2 separate regions of the Homo sapiens genome follow, and region 2 is linked to region 1. The links are contacts of gene promoters, found by promoter capture Hi-C in human tissues and cell types (Jung and others, 2019). All regions are on one chromosome and are shown on one strand. The core of a region is centred on a gene start or on the middle of the fragment in contact, and the rest is flanking DNA. Distances in the headings are between cores, read along the strand shown. Region 1 holds the start of IDNK (IDNK gluconokinase). Region 2 overlaps GKAP1 (G kinase anchoring protein 1).

The links. Contacts are between HindIII fragments. The study calls those that stand out against the background at their distance.
Region 2: a fragment that was not itself captured here is called in contact with the fragment with the promoter of IDNK in region 1 in 1 of the 25 tissues and cell types used here (hippocampus).

The regions. Positions count from the first base shown.
Region 1 is chr9:83,621,815-83,624,738 of GRCh38, reverse strand. It overlaps IDNK (IDNK gluconokinase), which reads right to left and starts at 1,596. Exons shown (of 5, transcript NM_001001551.4): 1 at 1,518-1,596. The coding sequence starts at 1,567. RefSeq lists enhancers at 992-1,041, 1,062-1,191 and a silencer at 1,372-1,901. The HindIII fragment of the contact is 12,457 bases long and covers 1-2,924 here.
Region 2 is chr9:83,814,795-83,817,494 of GRCh38, reverse strand. GKAP1 (G kinase anchoring protein 1) reads left to right here. Exons shown (of 13, transcript NM_025211.4): 2 at 368-499. Among named protein-coding and RNA genes, the nearest start is that of GKAP1, 1.6 kb to the left of the region's middle. RefSeq lists a silencer at 1-351. The HindIII fragment of the contact is 6,997 bases long and covers 1-2,700 here.

The sequences.
Region 1 (2,924 bases), core at 347-2,846:
TCCGCCTCAAACAAAACAAAACAAAAAAAAAACAAAAGAAGCTAAGCCTCAGAACCATTGCACCTGCCATTCCCTCTGCCTGTCCTGCCCTTTCCTCAGCTATCCACATGGCAGGTTCCTCAAGTCTTGCAGGTCTTTGCTGAAACGCCACTCCCCCAGAGGAGACATCCCTGACCACTCTGCCTGGCACTCTTTGTTCCCCTTACTCCAGAGCATCTATCACCAACTCACACACTACATATATTCATTTACTCTGTCTCCCATACCAGAATGTAAATCCTTTGAGGGCAGGGATTTTATCTGTCCTGTTCGCTATATGACAATGACATAGAGTAAGGATTGAGCTCAATAATTACTGAGTACATGAATATCACAAGCTATACATCATAGGGATTAGGCCTCCCTCATCTGATTCAAGACTCAGAGGGGGTACATGAACTGCCCAGGCTCACACAGCCAGACAGCAACAGAACCAAGACCTAGGGCTCTTCACTCCTGTTACATCACACCATGGCAATGATTTTACATTCTCCAACTGATTCAAATCATATGGCAGCTAGGGATTTGGGGGCTCCATGTTTTATTTCAATTGCAGTTCAAGATTTCTTTTTATCTTTGTGGCTGAGAACCCTACAATAATTTTGGAAAGCAAAACCCATCTACCTGGAGTAAATCTTTAATATACACCTGACTACACAGGCCACAACATGGGCCGTTCCTGATTCAGAAAATTCTAGAAGGGTCCTATAGGCCCTTGAAGGTTATGATGTTTTAGCTGATCAAGTTCTGTCCTTTGCTGCCTGTGGTCGAATGGTACAGCAGCTGTCTTTTCTGATAAAGGGCACAGTTAGACTTTGGTTTAAACAGGAAGCCAAATGTTAACTCCTCAGTCTCCAGGTTAGCACACTGGGCTACCTCTGTGGTTTCCACAATTCTCTTCTTTCTTTCCAAACCCTCAGGAGCCACCCTCCATATTAACGCTGTCTCCTTCCAGGTTAAGCTGATGAAAGGAAGGGGAAAACGATTCACTTTCCAAAATTGAATCGGAGAAGTCCAGGGCCTCATAGGAGGAGGCCGCTGTGTGTCCAGATGGCCAAAGGTCTGTGAGAGCCTGGGCCGTGGTTTGCGTCCTCTCGCTAGAGGCCGTGCGCCCTCCCGCCTGGCCCCGACAAGGCGCCCCGAAACCTAGCCCCGCGCCGCTCGCTAGGCCTCCACCTGCGCGGCCCCGCAGCCGCCTGTTCAGGAGCGGCTTCCTCCCTGAGCCTGCGGTCGCCGCAGCCTCCCCGTCTTAGAGCGGGAACCCGGAGCTCGGATGCGGTCCCAGGATGGGCGCCCCGCGAGCAGGCTGGAGGGCGGGGAGAGGGCGCGGCAGCCGCGGGCCTCGGTTTCTTCATCTGCAAAGGGAAGGGTGGGGGGTCCCCAAGACCCCAGTCCACCGGCAGGGACGGCGACGCGTCCGGCCTCCGCCGCGCCCGCAACACTTGTCCCGGGCGCCCCCCGCCCTCTCCCGGACCTACTTCCCCGAGCCGCTCACGCCCATCACCAGCAGCGCGCCCGGCGCCGCCATAACCCAAGCTCGGCTCCTTCCCGTCGCCTTCCGGGCCCCGCCGGCCCCGGCCTACCCGGCGCTCGAGGGGCGGAGCCGCTCTCGCCCCGGCCGGGGCAGTGAGGGCCGTGCCCCTCTGCGCCCTCCCCGTTTTCCCGCGCCCCTTTTCCATGCTTTCCTCCTCCCTTTCCCAACCTCCCGGCCTCTCTCTCCTGCCCCTTCTTTTCCTCTCCCCTCCCCTCCCTCTTTCCTCTTCCCGGAAGTGAAGCGCGCGCCCGGCCTGGCACTCGCGTCTCCCTGGGCTGGAGGGAGCCGCCCAAAGCCCCGCCACCTGTCGTTCTACTGCCCCGGCCCCTCTTGGTTCCAGAGGATCCTCACCCTGGCAGGCCGGATCCTCATCCACCCATGGAAAGCATTCATTCATTCATTTATAAAAATGTTCTTGTAAAAAGAATAAACAGAAAATAAGACTCATAATTTCCCACACCAGGCAGCAATAAGCAGCACTTCCTAAAACGACTCCCCTTTCCCCGCGCCCCGTCGTAGATAGATGGGTATGAGTATTTTGTAAAACTGGGATCAGGCCGTACACAGCGTTTTGTAATCTGGCCTTTTGTCACAATAATAAATGGCGGCCATCTTTTGGTGTCAAACTTAGGGTTGAGTGTTGACCGTAGCAGCATATGTCTTGGCTGTATGGCTCTGCTGTTAAATCCAGCACTGGTTGGGGCTTTAAGAGGAAGGAGCACCACTTTAAAGTGTCCATTTGCTTTAAAACAATGTTAATTATGTGTCGTTTGAACTATTTGATTAAAAGCACTTCTTTTTTTTTTTGAGACGGAGTCTCGCTCTGTCGCCCAGGTGGGACTGCGGACTGCAGTGGCGCAATCTCGGCTCACTGCAAGCTCCGCTTCCCGGGTTCACGCCATTCTCCTGCCTCAGCCTCCCGAGTAGCTGGGACTACAGGCGCCCGCCACCGCGCCCGGCTAATTTTTTTTGTATTTTTAGTAGAGACGGGGTTTCACCTTGTTAGCCAGGATGGTCTCGATCTCCTGACCTCATGATCCACCCGCCTCGGCCTCCCAAAGTGATTAAAAGCACTTCTAACCGCATTTGGCATCACCTCCTTTGGTCTTTTGTTAACCAAGGTAGGTATTACTCTGTGTCCTAGAAAACAATAAAAGTGACATAAAAGCATTTATCTAATGAATAGTTCAATTACCCCTGCACTGCCTTTGTTTTTCATATACTTAGCCCGAGTAGGTGAGATTTCAATCTGGATGGGGGCTGTACAGGTGAAGAAATTGAGGCTTGGAGAGAGGTCTTACAATTCAGTTATGGTCAATACACATTTCTTGAACATCTACCATGTGCTGGT
Region 2 (2,700 bases), core at 30-2,529, 190 kb before region 1:
GCCTCGCGGGTGTCCGCTCCGGCACCCCGGAGGCGTAGGCAGCGGCTCGACAGCGCTCCCCTCGGCGCCCCGGCCTCGGGTGGCGGGGACTCGGCCTGAGGCGACGGGCCCCACTGACCGGAGCCGCTGGGCAGAGGGCACGGGAGGGCCGCGGCCCGACGCTCGGCGCAAGGCTCGGGGCGGCGGGGAGGGACTCGCACCCGACTCCCAGGCCGGCGACCGCTGAGCCTCCCGAGACCCCGTGGGGGCCGCTCGAGTGACAGGTGCCACCGTCCCCTCCCCGCCGCTGGCGCCCGCGCTCCCTCCCGGGGAGCCGGGCGCTCGGAAATTTCTGGAGCAACGACCTGACTCGTTTTCTCCCTTTCAGGTTTTGAAGCCGCTTCTCTGCCCGAGTTAGGTTTCGCCCAGCGCAATTTCTTTCTCTATGTACTTTGCGAATAAGTTTCGGAGCATCGGTTAACAGCCTATGGGTGAAATTTGGCTTTCATTCATGAATGAGGTATAGTGAATTACTTTTTGAATATAGTGCTCCTCCTCCTCCCCCGCCAGCTATTGAAAAGTGATTTTTTTTTCTGTTATTGTTTGGAACAGCCTTACCGAATTTTTGTCAGATCTCTAGCATTAAGGTGCTTCATAAATATTGAACAGTAACGACAAAAATAGTTTATCAAATTGGCTGATTGCCTTTTCTCTTCCTCCTCTTTTTCACTCTTTACCTTCGCCAGATTTTTCAGAGTAGATGCAAGTGCTTTCATTAGAAGAACTAATGAAAGATCGTCTGTCTTACACTAAAAAGCCGGAGACACTTTTCTTCACCATTTAGCATTGTCTGTTGTGTAGTAAATGTGCTTGGGATTGTAACTGGAATCATTTAATAAATGTGACTTGTAGCTATAAAAATATTTGAGAAGCTTTTTGGCAAATTAAAATATTAAAAATCTTCATAGAAGTCTAGATTTCTTTTCTCAACAGATTTATAACACTATAGTAGCTTCAATTCTGGAGTAAGAGCAAAACCCAGAAGTTGACCAAAAGAACCTTGTGTGAAAATAGATGTATTTTACTCGTGGGAGAATCCCTCAGGTCCTCACTGAGTACCTGCTTGTATTTTTTGTTTAACTTTCTTGGCCTGCAGAAAGTGGGAGCTGCAGATTGGAGAGGGATCTCAGTACTTAACTATGAGAAAAAAATGGAGTTTGGGGCATACCCATTGGGTTTACATCACTTACAGTAAGTGTGTTTGGAGCAGAGTTTTAGTATGCACTTCACACTTGCTGATTGTGAACCCTATTTTTTTTTTTTCTTGAGGCGGAATTTTGCTCTTGTTGCCCAGGCTGGAGTGTAATGGCGCGATCTCGGCTCACAGCACCTTCTGCCTTCCAGGTTCAAGCAGCTCTCCTGCCTCAGCCTCCTGAGTAGCTGGGATTACAGGCGCCTGGCTAATTTTTTTTTTTTTTTTTTTTGTATTTTTAATACAGACGGTGTTTCGCCTTGTTGGCCAGGCTGGTCTGGAACTCCTGACCTCGTGATCTGCCCACCTCTGCCTCCCAAAGTGCTGGGATTACAAGTGTGAGCCACCACACCTGGCCTGTGAACCCTAATTTTTAAGAAGCCAAAGTGAAAGATACTGTTTGGTTATCTGAAGAACAGAACATGAAATAACACAATTTTTTATTTCACCAGGTGTTAAATCAGTGATACTTGGTGCCATTTCATATTACGCTCAGTTAATTTCGATCTAAGTTATATTTCAGTGAGGCCACACTAATTGGCATCTACATTAATACCTTTTTTTGGTCAGGCTAATTGGTAGTGTTAATAGAAGATGGCTATCATTCATCTCATAAAAAGTAATATATTTGGTTGTTCTTGATTTAAGGATTTTATATGTATAATTGTGTGTGTGTGTGTGTGTGTGTGTTTTCTGAAGTTCCCTAATTGTGGTCTTCTGGACTGAGATATGGCTGCTGCTGTCTTGATTCTAGTGAGGTCATAGTGTAGAGGGATAAGGTCATAATGGCAATGTGCCTCCAAACCTTGATAGAGGCCAAGACTACCAGCCACTTAGGAATTCTTCTGCTTGGGTCGGGCTTGGTGGTGCATGCCTGTAATCCCAGCCCTTTGGGAGGCCGAGGCTGGAGGATTGCTTGAGCTCAGGAGTTTGAGATCAGCCTGGGCAACATAGTGAGACCCCATGTATACACAAAGAGAAAAAAAAAATTCTCCTGCTTGTAGCTTAGGCTATTCATTTTTAGAAGCAGTTTACTTAAGCAGCCAATGCATCCTAGTTCTCTTAAATTAACACTTTAGTTTTTCATTTTTTTGAGACAGTCTCTCGCTCTGTTGCCAGGCTGGAATGTGGTGGCGCAGTCTTGGCTCACTGCAACCTCTACCTCCCTGGTTCAAGCGATTCTCCTGCCTCAGCCTCCCGAGTAGCTGGGACTACAGGCGTGCGCCACCATGCCCAGCTAGTTTTTGTATTTTTAGTAGAGATGGGGTTTCACTACGTTGGCCAGGATGGTCTCGATCTCTTGACCTTGTGATCCACCCGCCTTGGCCTCCCAAAGTGCTGGGATTACAGGCGTGAGCCACCATGCCCGGCTGGCTTAAATCAACACTTTAAAACCAGATATGCTTCCTAGACAAAATTGGTTGTGGCAATTAGTTTGTTAGAATAGTACTTACCGTAATGAAACAACT